Linked DNA regions of Homo sapiens: regions 2 and 3 are each linked to region 1. Evidence: promoter capture Hi-C in 16 types of primary human blood cells and fetal thymus (Javierre and others, 2016). All regions are on one chromosome and are shown on one strand. Each heading gives the region's core, a stretch centred on a gene start or on the middle of the fragment in contact. The rest is flanking DNA. Distances are from core to core; before and after follow the strand shown. Region 1 holds the start of INHBB (inhibin subunit beta B). Region 2 has its middle 31 kb from the start of TMEM177. Region 3 overlaps LOC101927764 (a long non-coding RNA gene).

Region 1 (4,965 bases), core at 1,013-3,512:
CGTTCAAAATCCCCAAGGAGTAGGGGAGCTGGCTAGTTAATTTTCTCAATAATTCAGCTCAACAAGAAGGAGGCTGTGCCAATCAAGAGATGACTCCCCTCTCATCCTACATTCCGGTGACCCTTGCCTCTGACAATCTACGTTTTTCTTTCCTTTTTTTTTTTTTTTTTTTTTTCAGGAAGAACAAATAATGAAACTCTGTGGTCAGGGCTGGTTTTATCAAACCTCCCACCATGCCCCTCCCAAGCCCCTACCTCAGGCCTCGCCTGGCTCCTCTAATAACACTGACATCTGACTTTGAAATGGGGGAAACTGCAGCCTTAAAAGCTGGTCTTGGACGAGCTGCCTGTGACCTGAATCTGTTATTTATAAGTCAAAGAGCTGGCTCCGTGAAACGGACCAGAAATATAACAGCCCCCGCTGTCATTTTGTGCCACCGGGACCAAAAGGCCTCCTCGACCTTCCAGAATCACATTTCTAACTCTGGGCCCCAAAGCACCTTTTAATCCGAGCCCTCTAATTGCATGGCGAGCTTTCCCTGACTCACTTTAGTGGACAGCTAAAACGGCAATGCATTTCTTTCTAAGCACAAACCAGCCCCGATTGTCTCTGCTTTTCTCCACACCCGGCCATGCAAAACTTTTCATCCCTTTTCATCCCCGGGCTGCCTGCTGCCTGGTGGGGTGGGGGGCATTTGCAGCCAGGGGCACAACCGCTCCCCCCACCGAGGCTCCCCGCTTGCCCCCGCCCTAACTGCACCGGGGCTTCCCCCTCTGCGACCTTCTCCGCAGTCCCCTCGGCACAAATGGGGCCGAGCTCCAGGCACAAAAGCCAGCCTGGCTCATTCAAGTCCTGAAAAGGACAGCGGAGTCGAAAGCACTTGCAGCATTTTGGCGCGGGCACATTTTTCTCCTTCTTTTAAAGTTCCGAAAGATTTTTCTCTCCCTGATTTTTATATTTAGACAGTGTTAGAGATTTGCAATCTGGGGCCGGGGGGGGGGGCGGATTCCAGAAAGGAGCCATACCCTTTGTTAACTACGACTCTGCCTCTCGGGCGAGGGGTCTGCTGCAGCTGCCAGGCAAGCCGAGAGGCACGGGGCTGTCCCCGAACCGCGGCTTTCTCTGTGTAAATGATGGACCTGTTGAGAAGCCTGCCTTCCGCCCGATTCCGGTGCCCACACAATCGGAAGAGAGGTTGCCTAGCTCTCCCCAGCGAGGCTTCAGCAATCCTGGCAAGCCCACGCCGCCGGTGATGGAAGCGGCCCCAGGGGCCTCTCACGCAGGCACACACACACACAGACACACACACAGATACACACACACTCTCTCTCTCCTCCGGCCCACGTATATCAACAAGCACACACATCTCCATCCACACTGCTAAGCCTACACTCCGATCGTGGGAAACAAAAACATTAAGCAATCACCAAGCAAGTGCCCGCAGAGCCAGGGCCGCGCGCATCTGCCGGGAGGGGGACGCGCGCCCAGAGGCGCTGGGGCCCGATTCCGGAGAGCAGGGGTGGAGGGCCAGGCGATCGGCGGCGGGGGGTTGAGGCAGCAGGCAAGGGTCTGCGGCCTGGGGGAAGAGGACTGCAACCCGGGCGGAGCGCGCAGGGCCACGGCCGAAGGAGCTCTGCCGGGAGTCCAGGCTGCCCCAGGGCGCGCGGGCTGCGGTGGCGGCGGTGGCAGCCGGAGCTAGCAAGGAGAGGGAGAGCGGGAGCGAGCGGGGACCGCGGCAGACAGCCGGAGGGCCGGACCCACCTGTCTCGGCGAAGCTGATGATTTCGGAAACGCGCTCCTGGCCGTCGGCGCCCGGGCTGGCGTGGCCGTCGAGGTGCGGGATCTCCACGCGGCCGTCCTCGCGCACCTTGCCCGCGTGCAGCTTGCGCAGGGCCGTGACCATGGCGGCCTTAGGCACGGCGTGCGTGATGTTGGGCCGGCCCCGCATCTGCAGGCGGCTCAAGATGTGCCGCTTCACCGCCTCCAGGAAGTCGCCGTCCACTCGGCCGAGCTCCTCTGGCCGCCGGAAGCCGCCGCACGACGTACAGGTGTCCTGCGAGCCACCCGGGGATCCGGGTGGCGGGGGTGGCGGCGGCGCGGCAGGCGTCGGCGGGGGCGTGGGTGAGCCCCAGGCCTCAGGCCCCAGCCAGCCGGCCGCCAGCAGCAGAAGGCAGGCGGCCCCCAGCGCCCGACCGGGCAGCCCGTCCATGGTGCGCCGCTGGCGACGAGGGCGCCCGCCGCGAGGCGAGCCGAGTCGAGCCGAGCGCAGGGCCGGGCTCCGGGCTCCGGGCGCGCCGCCCCGCCCCGCCCCCGCCCGCGCCCGCGCCCGCCCGGGCCTCCGCCCGCCCGCCCGCCGGGAGGGCTGCCGCCGGCTCGCAGGGGGAGGGGGCCGGCCGGGCCTCGGGGGTTCCCGCGCGGCAGGGAAGGGGCGCCGAGGGCCCCGGGGGCCCGAGGGGCGCGCCGGGCGGGGCGGAGGTCGCGGGTCACTGCCGCACGGGCGTCTCGGGGCGCCTCGGCATCTGCAGCCTTCTCCCCATCCTTTCCGCGTCGGGGGCCCCGCAGCCCCGGTTCGGGTGAAGCGAAAGCAGCGTCAGTGGGAGCGGCGGTTCGGCCGGCGGCTGGGGAAGGTGGCGAAAGAGCGGGTCCACGCAACTTGGCTGAGACGGAAGCGAAGGCGCTGGAGCCCCCCGGAGCGGAGCCGGGCGCGGCTTGGCGCGGCGCTGCGGCGGGCGCTGCGGCGGGGCCCCGCGCTCGCACCTGAGCGCCTCGCCCTCACTGCCTCGCGCCAGGAAGGGCCGCCGGCGGCGGAGACGGGCAGGTCGTCCTCGCCGCGGGCCGGCGGGCAGTGGCGCGGAGCAAGCTTGGTGCCCGGGAGAGCCGGCCGCGCGGGCCCGCTCACAGGCGGCGCCGAGCCCTCGGCCGCGGGCCCTGCAGTCCTCCCGGCGCGTCACACGGCAAAGTTGTCTCCAGGATCCCTGGGCGCCGCATCCACGGGCGGGCGGCCGCAGCGCGCTTCGCCGGGGCCTCTGCTCCGCCCGCCTCCTCGCAGCCTCCCTCCTTCCCTCCGCCTGCCTGCGCGGCCCGGCCGGGCGCGGGGCGCCGGGCGAGGAAGGCGAGGGGGAGGCAGGGCCCTTCTCGCTCCTGTCTCTTCTGCCTGCCGCGGCGGCGGCGAGGTCGGCTCGAGCGCCGAAAAGTCTCGCAGCGTCCCCGGGTGCAGTGCCCTCGCTCGCGCTCGTACTGGCACCCGCCGCAGGGCCGGGAGAGAGCGGGCGGGCGGCGGCGGCGTCCCCGCGCCGGGCCGCGGCACGGAGTGCGGAGCTCGCCGAGGAGGAGTTCTTCTCTTTGGTCTCTCTTCTTTTACTCTCCCCGTTTTTTCTCCCAAGGGGGAAAAAAGCCGCACAATCTCCGTATGTGCGCGCGCGTTGAGATAGACGTTGGCAGAAAAAAGGGGGGGAGGGAGGGTGTCGTCCTGCCCGTGCGAGAGGAGACGGTCCGTACCTCCCCGCTCGAGCTTCCCGGGGTGGGGGGAGGAGGAGAAAGCGGAATCTGTTCAGGTTGGGGCTGCCCGCTCCCCGCGCTCACCCCTGCTTCCCACCGCTTTTTTCCTTTCTGCCTTCCCGAGAAGGAGGGGCGAGCCGGCCCTCTCCCCTCCCCTCCTCTCCCCTCCCACCCCCCGCAATGCCGGGCTACTTTTGCTACCTCGAAACTTTCCCACCACGTGGGCGCCCCGGACCCTTGCCCAGCTGGGCGGCCGGCGGCACCGACGGGTTCCAGGCGCTGGACCCAGGCGCTCCTCCCGGCCCACTCCCGCCTCCCCGCCGCCGCGCAGGCCCTGCCTCTGTCCCAGCTGCCGCCCTCCCCAACCAGCAGAGGCGACTCCCGCCGCCGTGGCCGCCCCCGGCCCTCCCGGGGCGCTCCCTCGCGGCCGAGCCTGGCGAGGCGAGCGGGGTGCGGCGCGGCCTGGGATGCCAGAGGCAGGCTCCGCCGGCGGCTGCCGCTCTGGGGCTGCAGTGCCCTCACCCAGCTCCCCGGGCCGCCGTCGCACTGGCCGAGGCGTGGACCCTGCGAGCTGGAGGGCGGGAAGGCAGTAGCCACTGGAGGCCTGGCCAGCGGCTGCGTCTGCTGGGCCAGGAGGAACGCCCCGATTGTGCGGGATCCCAGGCGCGCGGCCCGGAGGCCACTGAGCCTCAGGGCTTGAGGGGCTGGCAGGGTCTACAGTACCCCACCCCCACCCCCACCCCCAGGGAATTCCCACTTTCGCCAGCAGACAAACTTTGGCTTCACTCAGACCCGGGTTCCACTCGGGCTCAGCCACTGCCAGCTTTGCAGGAGTGACCTTGGATAGAGTCCTCACCTTTCCTATCGCCTACCTCTTCTTCTGTGAAGGGACAGTAACACCTGTATCACAGGGGCTGGGTGGGAGGCCCAGCGAGGCAACTGGGCCAGGCTCTTCACACAACCCGATAAAGGATGGTTCTAGGGTCACCGTTCTCAGGCCACCGGACAAGGAACACTGTCAGTGGAAACTTGACTTTCAGACCCGTCCGGGGCCCCAAGTGCAATGCGCTCCTCTGTCCTTCTTCACGCCCCCACCCGGGTCTGGGGCCGCATGACAATGCCCACAGGACACGGAGCCGTACCCCGTTCCCTCGCAACGGGCTAGACTCAAGGCAGAAGCACGATGGGAGTTCATCCTGGCTTTCCCAGGATATTGGGGAATCGGGGACGTCGGAGGCGGAGCGTGGCCTCCTGCCCCCGCCTCCCACCGCCAGTCTCTCGGGCCAGCCCTGCCACCGTGGAGCTCGGCCGGGACCGCAGGCCCGCGGCGGCCTGCAAGTCTGGAAGCCGAGCGCCCCCTCCCTCCCAATCGGAGGAACCGACCCGAAGCTGGCGGGCAAAACTAGGGCGGGTGTGAGTTTGCCGACCGAAGTCAGAAGCAGGGATCCAGGAGGATCCCCGAGATGG
Region 2 (4,965 bases), core at 1,311-3,810, 640 kb after region 1:
CTTGAACCCGGGAGGCAGAGGTTGCAGTGAGCCAAGATTGCGCCATTGCACTCCAGCCTGGGCAACAAGAGCAAAACTCCATCTCAAAAAAAAAAAAAGAAAACCATTATCATAAGTTTGGTGTCGAATATTTCTAGGCAAATCTTCATGCTTTATGTGTGTATGTACCTAAATAATATATAGCATTGTTTTGTGTGTTCTTAGACTATGTAAATGCTGACTTAATGTACATATCCTTATGAGATTTACCCCCTGCTCAACAAGCTAACTCTTGCTTTCTTGCTGATACCAATAATAATCTTTTTATTACAGTCTTAACAAGAGTCATGCCAGTCAGTGAGGTTCTAAGGATGGGAGTGGTGGGAGCAGTCCAGGCTGCAGGAAGGAACATTTTGTCACTGGCATTGTTTAGAATTGCTGGTGCATGCATGCTGGTAATAAAAAGCAGACCAACTTTCAGTGTCAGGCTGCCCTAACGAAGTACCATGGACTGGGTGGCTTAAGCGATAGACATTTCTTTCTCACAGCTGTGGAGGTTGGAAGTCGAAGGTCAAGGTGTTGGCAGGGCTGGTTTCTCCTGAGGCCCCTCTTCTTGGCTTGTGGATGCCCCCTTCTTGCCGTGCCTTCATGTGGCCTTTTCTCTGAGCCCATGCATCCCTGGTGTCTCTGTGTATCCAAATTTCCTCTTATAAGGACACCAGTCACACTGGATTAGCGTCCACTCAAATGACCTCATTTTAACTTAATCATCCTTAAAGGCCTTACCTCCAAATACGGCCCCATTTTGAGATACTGGGGGTTCAGGCTTCAACATAGGAATTAGAGGGGACACAAGGCAACCCATCACAATCACCAAGCCTCAGTGTCCATGGGGGTGAAATATACTCTGCTGCTGTTGGGCACCGCAGAGCCACGCGGCAGGAGAGAGTACAGAATTGACAGCAACAATCCACCTATCAAAGTGAGGTGCTATCTCCATTTTTATAGATAAAGAAACGGGCCCAAAGACCAGCCCCAGGCCATACCACATATCTAGGAAGCCGCATCAAGGGGTGCCTTAACGCCAACGCCTCAGACAAATCCAGGTCTCTTTGCTGCCCTGGAGCGTGGCTGCTCCACCTTTTTCTTGTTCTCAACCCCCAGGCTCTGGACCTGTCTCTGTCCTCAGGACCATGCACGTGGAAATTCTGCTGCCGGAGCTGCCAGCCCATAACTTTTGGGATAAACTCTCCCATCAGGTGTCCAGTGACAGCTGCCAGTGGGTGCCAGGCTAACAGGGTATTTGTGTTCCAGGTCATCTGGCGTAACTTGCTCCTTTCCCACCCCAGGACTGTCATCTCAGGGAGCCTGTTCTGGTGACTTCTGGAAAGGCCTGGACTCCTTTGTTCCATGGAGTCATCAGGTAACTACGAAGAGTCCTCAGTTTGCTTTTCCCCAGCGCCTTGTCGAGCTTCCTTGGGTGTCCCAGGTCTTGCTGTGTTCAGTGCGGCTTGGGTCATACTTGGTCTTCTTGGGCAATGACAAAGGTGGCTTTTAGTTAGGGAAGGAAGACAGCCTCAGAAGGGAGAAGCCTATCAGTATTTCAAGCCCCAGGCGATGTGAAAAACTGAGCCTTTGTTTGGGAGTGTCAGCCCCCAGGACTTGCGTGTTTCTGCCCTGAAGCGTTTTCTGCTTTCTGAAGGCTGCAGTTCTCTTCCTCGTTTTATTGACTGCCTACGTGCCAGGGGCTTTGTGAATATTACCGCACTGAAATTCCCAATACCCAGCAAGAAGGCATTATTATCCTTATTTTACAGATGAGAAAATAGAGATTAAACAACTTACTTAACTGTTTGAACTCCGTGGGGCACAAACATGAAATGATTCTATTTTTTCTCCAGATCTTTTTAGAGATTTATACCAAATCTCCTTTTCATAATTCCATAGCTTTTTGGTTGTTTTTAGGTATTAAAAAACCCCTATGGTCCAGTCCACTTTCTTTTCAAAGCCTCAAATCTTGAATCCGATATCATATCCACTGCCTGCGCTTCCCTCAGACCAGCCTGCCTCGAGCCAGGCACCTATCGTGAGGGTGGGGTGGTCGGTCTTCATCCCTCTCCTCCCTCTTTTGGTGCCTCTCTCTTCCTGTGCTTGGGGACTTGGGGAAGAGGAGGGAGTGCAATGGGGAAGATAATCTTTTCGCTTCACTGGGCATTTGATCGTAGCCTCTTCTTTGCAGGTTTTGTGGGTTCTCTACTGCTGTTCTCAAGATGGCAGGTGTTGGGCCGGGCGTGGTGGCTCACGCCTGTAACCCCAGCACTTTGGGAGGCGGAAGTGGGCAGATCATGAGGTCAGGAGATCGAGACCATCCTGGCTAATACAGTGAAACACCGTCTCTACTAAAAATACAAAAAAAAATAGCTGGGGGTGGTGGGGGCGCCTGTAGTCCCAGCTACTCAGGAGGCTGAGGCAGGAGAAAGGCGTGAACCCGGGAGGTGGAGCTTGCAGTGAGCCGAGATCGTGCCACTGCACTCCAGCCTGGGTGACACAGCAAGACTCTGTCTCAAAAAGAAAAAAAAAAAAAAGATGGCAGGTGTCCAAGTGCCATCTCCCAAGGGGGATGACTTTGGGTCCCTCCCTCAAGCCTCTCCCTCTGACAGCTGGAGTCCCTCTGTCTGGGGTGGGCTCCTGGGGGCAATGCCGGTAGACAGGCCAGGAAACCTGCTGCCCCACGAAACTCGCGGGTAGGGCTTGGGCATGTGAGCTGCTCCACTGCAGACTCCTCCATCCTGCCCCGTGGATGCTCAAATGTGCTTCTTACGGGCATCCATGATCTGGAATTCTCTTGCAGTGCCTCCCTTGACTGAGGAGGGGAAAGCCAAAATACTGCCCAATACACTGCTCCTATAAACTCCGGGGAATTTCCCCCTGGAATCTCATCTTCTGCTTACACAGTCTGAGGGGATGGCAAGGCTGGGGTGTGGTTGGGTCTAGCAGAGCTGAGTTGGGACATTCTAACCAGTTTATTTTTATTGGGGTGAAATCCACATCAAATAAAATTAATCACCTTAAACTCAAAATTCAGTGGCATTTAGTATCTCCACAATGTTGTGCAACCACCACTTCTATCTAGTTCCAAAACATTTTAATCACCCCCAAAGAAAACTCTGCACCCATTAACCAGTTACTCCCCATTTCCCCTTTCCCCAGTCCCCGGCGGCCACCAATCTGCTCTCCATCTCTATGGGTTTACAAGTGCGTACATTTTGACATCTTTCTTTTGGGTCTTCTTTCCCTAAGATTAGCTGGATGACTCTATCAACCATGACCAAAAACTCCTTTTTATTTATTTATTTGTTTATTTATTTGAGATGGAGTCTTGCTCAGTCGCCCAGACTGGAGCGCAGTGGCGCGATCTCGGTTCACTGCAAGCTCCACCTCCTGGGTTCATGCCATTCTCCTGCCTCAGCCTCCCAAGTAGCTGGGACTACAGGCGCCCACCACTACACCCGGCTAATTTTTTTGTATTTTAGTAGAGACGGGGTTTCACCATGTTAGCCAGCCAGGATGGTCTCAATCTCCTGACCTCGTGATCCGCCCATCTTGGCCTCCCAAAGAGCTAGGATTACAGGTGTAAGCCACTGTGCCCAGCCTAATATTTTTATTTCATTTTATTTTTTGTAGATATAGGATCTCACTATGTTGCCCAGGCTGGTCTTGGACTCCTGGGCTCAAGTGATCCTTCCCTCTTGGCCTCCCAAAGTGTTGGGATTACAGGCATGAGCCACCATGTCTGGCTCACCAAAGGCTTCTGATATCCCTAATGGACCAAATATTTCTTGAAAATTCAAAGGGATTGTAGTATGTGGTGGGATTTTTAGGCAGGAACCACCAATTATTAACTTTCAGTAACCATCTCTAAATGGCCACGACTGCACTGACCTCAGAGCCACAATCTGTCAGGCCACAGGCACTTAGTGAGGACCCTTGTCTGCATGTCATAACACAGTGGTGGGTGCCACAGAAAAATGGAAAGAGACGCGCATGGTACAGTGGAAAATCCACCCAAAGTGGATGCCTGTTCTGATGCCAACTTGCTGTGCATTCTTAGACAAATTACTTAGCTTCCCTGGGCCTCAGTTTTTTTATCCATAAGATGAGTGATGACATATTATTTATGCAAATTGTAAAACAATAAAAAAGAAAAATCAAGTCTCAGAATAGGTAACCTTTAAGTTTTCTTTGATGTTAAGGTCATTATGAGACTTAGTTCTTGCCTCTGTGGGGCATTACCTAGTATGAGGAAAACAAAACAAAGAAATGTAGAAAACAATAAGAGTCAATACCAAGCTGTGGCTCAGTGACTTGGAGTCTCTAGGGGTCCAGAGAAGGGAGGAGAGGGTGTGTGCCCTGTGAGAGAAGGGCTGTGGACCAAAACTGACAGGATAGTTTTTACAAAGAGTGATGTGAGAAGTGGGCATGAGCAGGGTGTGCCAGTGCGACTGTGTGTGTGTGTATGTGTGTGTGTGTGTGTGTGTGTGTGTGTGTCTGCGTGTGATTGTCTAGTGGGGAGGACTGCTTAAGATTAAAAGACGCTCAGGAGACATATCTACCAAATGCAATGTGTGAACCTTGTTTAAATCTTGATTTGAACAAAGCAACTGTAAAATAGACATCTTTGGAACAATCGGGGGAATTTGAATATGGATTGCATATTTGATGGCCATAAGGAAGTTTTGCTCATGTTGTTAGGTGTGTTAATTTGTGAACACGGGTGTGAACAACTAAATATGCCTGTTATGTAAGAAAATGTCCTTATTTTTCAGAGATACATGCTGAAATCATTTAGCAACATTATGATGCCTGAGATTTTTTTTTCCACAAAAATAAAAATAGATGAAACAAATGTGGCAGAATGGTAATCATTGTTAAAGCTAAGAGATGGGTGTTTGGGTATTTCTTGTATGGTTTGTATGAGTCAGGATC
Region 3 (4,965 bases), core at 1,481-3,980, 610 kb after region 1:
TGGCTTGTCTGCCTAAAGGGTGAAACCTTTAAGCAACTAGAGAGCGGAAAGCTTCCCCTTCAGCTTGGTTTCTGTACTGGGCAATGGAATCTTCTGTAGCGGGCAAATGGAACACTTACCCTGATGTTCCTCCCAAATAAGAAGTACTGTATATCCACAAGTGGACATCCAATACAAAGAAAAAGAACCTTGATGCTAACCTGACATCATATACAAAGATTAACTCAGGTTGGACCATAGACCTAAATATAAGATTGAAAACTGCACAACTTCTGCAAGAAAGCATAGAATAAGTATACCTAGATGCTAAGCAGCCAGAATGACCAATGTCCACCACAGGGTTCCACCACCTACTACTACTAGCTGTGTGACTTGGTCAAATGAGGACAATCCCTGTCTCCAGGCAGCTGGGTGGATCCAGTGGCAACCTGAATAAACCCCTCAGCCTGGGCCCTGCCCTCTGCGTAGGGATGTTCTCCTGAACTAACCTGCAGCGTGGACATTCCCGAGCATGACCCAGCCTCCAGGTGTCCCTCTGTCAGGAGGTGGGGGTGCATTCCGAGAGGGGACAGACCATTTTGACACCTCTTGTCTTTTGCAGCTTTGAGAGCCCTGAGATTCAGCCCCTGCTTGGGACATAGTGGCTATAGGGAGAGTCTTCTCAGGCAGTGAACCGAGAAAGAAGGTTGCATGGGGTCCTCCTGAGACACACCTAGGCACTCTGAAAAATATTTCAGTGAAACTTCTATGGGGAAGTGCTGGAGGCCTGTGTCAGCAGGTGGGAGGCCCCAGTGACATCTGTTAATGTGGATTCATTTGTCCCTCTGGTGCTGGGCCTGAGCAAATTTGGGATGCACATACATCCTTTCATTGGATTCTTGTTATATCCCTTTGAGGTCAGCATAGCAAGTACTGTAGACTCATTTTTTTTTTTTTCTGCAGAGGAAGAAACTGAGGCTAAAGAACAAAAACTTGCTGAAGGTCACTCAGCTTGGGCTGTGGGACTTGTTTTCCTGCCCCGAGCCCAGCGTCCTTCCCACCATCCAACACTGTTTCCTTTCTTGGTACCTCCATTATTAGAACACCTGGATATTCTTAGCTAACAATGGATGACATAAATAAACACACGGTCATTTCCCCACATTTCCGCACAGGTCCTCTGCAGATGGCAGAGCCCTTTCTCTAAATGCATGGCATGAAAAGGCATTTCAAAGGTTGGAAAGAGAGCTTCAGCATTAATCATGATGGGATAGCGGAAACTGGCTTTGCAAGGGATGGACTGGACTTCAGGGAAGATGGACAGCCTGAGCTCACTTTCAGGAGAGCTCACTTTCAGGAGATCAGTCAGGGCTGTCATTCCAGGGCCTGGGTGGAGGGCTTCTGCTGTGCCAGGGAACAGGTGTCTGGACTCGGTCTCCCAGGGTGAGCGCCGTCTGCTGCCAGTCCTTGCAGAGACTGGACTGTAGCTCTGAGTGCATGATTTGTAGGCCAGGATCCTCCCCTGCCCCTGAGGCTGAGGCCAACATGGGGGGTGGCTGCCTTTAAGGCTGGTCTGGGATTGTCCATGTACTTACTGAGCCAAGGAGGAAGAACCAAAATAGATGCTGGGAGAAAGCAGAGGTCAGAGGCTCAGAGAGGCAAGTCCTGTGTCGGGCTGGAAGGGGATAGTAGAATTGGGGGTGTAGCGGGGGATGGTGTCAATAGCCAGTGGGAATGAGGACTAAGGGAAGAGCCCATCTCACAGGACTCCTGGGCCTAGCAAAGGGTAGGTGATCAATGACTATTTAAGTAATTAATAGTTCAGCAACAAAGGACAGTCTTGTGGGGGTAGGGGCAGCTCCTAAAAAGGGCTGTGGTAGGAAGGGTGGGGCAGGAAGGTCTATGTGGCTGAGCCCCTCTGGGACCCTCAAACTCCAGTGTCAAGTCTTCTGTCCTTTTGAGCCCAAGTGACACCACTGATTTTTTTTTTACTCTATCTTGAGGGAGAAGCAGGCCCCCCACAAAGGACATAAATCTCTACAGATGAGGATACCTCACTGGGCTTTTGTTTGTCAGCCAAAAAGGGAAAAGTAAGCATTTGTCTAATTTTCTCAAATTTTAACCAGCCAACAGGTTAGAGATCTTTTTTTTTCTTTTTGGCTTTTAAAATAACCTTTATTTTTTAAAAGTTAAGATGTGCATTATAGGAAACTGAAAAACGCAAGAAGCAAAGAACAAAGTCATTCACAATCACAGGCAGTTTATAGTTTGACATGCTCTTCTAGGTCCTGTGCGTGTGTAGGCACAACATCCAATTTTATGGCACTGAGATTGTACAGTATGTATCATGATTTTTCACACATCATGAATATTTACCAATTCAAAATCCTAAAGCTATATGAGTATTCTGATAACCAAGAATACACTACACCAACTCAAACTGTTAAAAGAAAATGTAATCCTGCCTTTCTTGGGACAAAAATTTCATGAGATCATGTTTTAAATGGAGAAAGAAAAAGGAGAAAGCCAGAAACTTGAATTCGCTCAATTACTCAGGAAACTTTAACCAAAAAGCTCAGACAAATTAAGGCTGACCTTAATTGATCTGTTTAGATGTTAACCTTTAGAAAAAATCTGTATACATACAAAGAGTATATACATTTGTGGCTTTGAACAAACATTTATGATTCACGGAAGGTGATGACTGCTTTGGCAAAATGGCATGGTTCAGTTTGAAGTCCAGCAGCTCTATTCATCCGTTGTGTGACCTTGGCACTTGGTCCCAGGGTCCCTTCCACCCTTTCTGGGTGAGTGCACAGAGGCGGACCAAAGTGCCAGTTCCAGACCCCATTTCTTGGCTGCTTGGCTCTTGAGGCACCCGACTTTCTGACTTGTCGGGGGCATCCAGGTTTGACGGCTTGGTTGGCCCTCAAGGATGCCTCTTGGCTGACTGGGTTCTGTTTTCTTTAGTTCTCAACTTTCCTTGGTTTCTTAATTTCAATGTTATGTCATCCCTTGGGATCCTGTTGGCCAGGCCCATCCCTGTAGGAGGGTTGACCTCAGCTTTCTTATTTTTCTCCCTTTCTTCCTTTCCTCCTTCACATGTAAGATGAGATGGTTGGACTGGACCAACTCTAGAATCCCTTCCCGCTCTGACTGCTCCATGGTCTGATGAAGGTGGCCACTGAGACATTTGGGCAGGGGCCCCTCTCGAAAACCATGGAGGTAGGCATGTGGTAACTCCCCCTGCTACGTCCATACAGCTATTCTCCTGTGAGAAGAGTTGAGATGGCTTTCTGCACAAAGTGAGAAAGCAAAAGAGCCAGACAGGACCCATGGGGGGAAAAAGGCAGGACAGAAAGCAGATAGCAAAACCAACCTGCCCTCCGAGGGCATGCCCGTCACACGCAGGGCTGCTTGCAAAGTGGGTTTTCGTCCTGTTCTCAGGCTTACAAGCAACTCATTGTCCTCAGAAAATAGCAGCTGCTTCTGGGGAGTATTCGGCATTGGGTGTGACTACTTAGGGGAGCGAGCTTTCAGCAGAAGGCCTGAGCCTTCGTCCGACAGGAAAGGAGGAAGTCATTCTGGGCAGGGGATTCGTTTTCTATTGCTGCTGTAACAAATTACCGCAAATGTAGCGGTTTCAAACAACATAATTTATCATTATACAGTTCTGCAGGTCAGACATGAGCCTCACTTGGACACAAGAATGCATTCTTTTCTGGAGATTCTAGGGGAGAATGCATTTTCTTGTCAGTTGGCAGAATTCAGTTCGACAAGGTTGTGGGACTGAAGTCCCCATTTCCTTGTTGGCTGTCACTGGGGGGGATCCCTTAGCTCCCCCCTGGAGGCCTCTCTCTTATCCTTGTCTATGAACCCTGATATCCCAGAACCAGCAGCAGGGCTCCTCCTCATGCTGCCACCTCTCTACCTTTCCTCAGTTTTCACCTCTCTCTCTCTCTCAGACCATGAGTGGGGAAGGTTCTCTACTTTTTTTTGTTTGTTTTGGAACGGAGTCTTGCTCTGTCGCCCAGGCTGGAGTGCAGTCACGTCATCTGGGCTCACTGCAACCTCCGCCTCCTGGGTTCAAGCAGTTCTCCTGCCTCAGCCTCCCTAGTAGCTGGGACTACAGGCACCCGCCACCACGCCCAGCTAATTTGTGTATTTTAGTAGAGATGGGGTTTCACCATGTTGGCCAGGCTGGTCTACATGACCAGCAAGCAAGCCACCCGCCTTGGCCTCCCAAAGTGCTGGGATTACAGGCATGAGCCACGCGCCTGGCTGGTTCTCTACTTTTAAGGACTCGTGTGATTAGATTGGACCCACCTGAACAACCCCGAGTAGTCCCCCCATCTCAAAGTCTTTAACTGAGTCACATCTGGAAAGGCCCTTTTGTTTGCCATGTAAGGTCACCTATTCACTAGTTCTGGGCATTAGAAAGTGGACATCTTTAGGAGGCCGCTAGCTTGCCACCCACAGGCAGATTAGGCCATGTGATTTGCTGACCCTCTGCAGATGTTACACTGAGGCAGTAAACCTTTTCCAGGTGACTCATACCACCTGTGCACATCAGGAGACAGTCATGTGAACTACAGCTGTTGCCAGTGCCAGCTGGGCATTGTGCAAAGCAGGACTTGAATGTGTCCATCACATGCACTCTGTGGTCGAGCCATCAGATGCCCTGAGTAATTAATGTTCACATGGCTTTGTGAAATACAACTATGTAGGCTAGCTCGTCAAGTGTTTTTACAAGAGCTGACGCCAGTGGAACCCACTCAGCTTGCTTTTCCTGTTCCAGCTTTTTCACGCACAGTCAGGACCCCCCTGGAACTTCATCTACTGCCAGCTCCCCCATTCCCCTCCCACGAGTGTGGGTGGCCCTCTTAGCCTCTGACCGCATACTGGAACCTGCGGAGGCAGTGTTACCAGACCTGAGGTCTTCCTCTGCATTTCATTTGCTGTTCCCTGGCCTGCAATGCCCCTTCC

What was found. Contacts are between HindIII fragments. The CHiCAGO score rates a contact against its expected background, and 5 or more counts as called.
Region 2: a contact is called between a fragment that was not itself captured here and the fragment with the promoter of INHBB in region 1, in 1 of 17 cell types (neutrophils). The highest score is 6.0, in neutrophils.
Region 3: a contact is called between a fragment that was not itself captured here and the fragment with the promoter of INHBB in region 1, in 1 of 17 cell types (neutrophils). The highest score is 8.7, in neutrophils.

The regions. Positions count from the first base shown.
Region 1 is chr2:120,343,433-120,348,397 of GRCh38, reverse strand. It overlaps INHBB (inhibin subunit beta B), which reads right to left and starts at 2,262. Exons shown (of 2, transcript NM_002193.4): 1 at 1,762-2,262. The coding sequence starts at 2,209. It overlaps LOC105373989 (putative cuticle collagen 91), which reads right to left. Exons shown (of 3, transcript XM_047446882.1): 2 at 4,371-4,476; 3 at 2,405-3,511. The coding sequence ends at 2,484. RefSeq lists a cis regulatory region at 4,620-4,965. The HindIII fragment of the contact is 14,502 bases long and covers 1-2,862 here.
Region 2 is chr2:119,708,207-119,713,171 of GRCh38, reverse strand. It overlaps a transcript of TMEM177 not described here. Among named protein-coding and RNA genes, the nearest start is that of TMEM177, 31 kb to the right of the region's middle. The HindIII fragment of the contact is 5,929 bases long and covers 1-4,965 here.
Region 3 is chr2:119,730,729-119,735,693 of GRCh38, reverse strand. The region is part of intron 1 of LOC101927764 (a long non-coding RNA gene); the gene reads left to right. Among named protein-coding and RNA genes, the nearest start is that of PTPN4, 27 kb to the left of the region's middle. The HindIII fragment of the contact is 5,353 bases long and covers 54-4,965 here.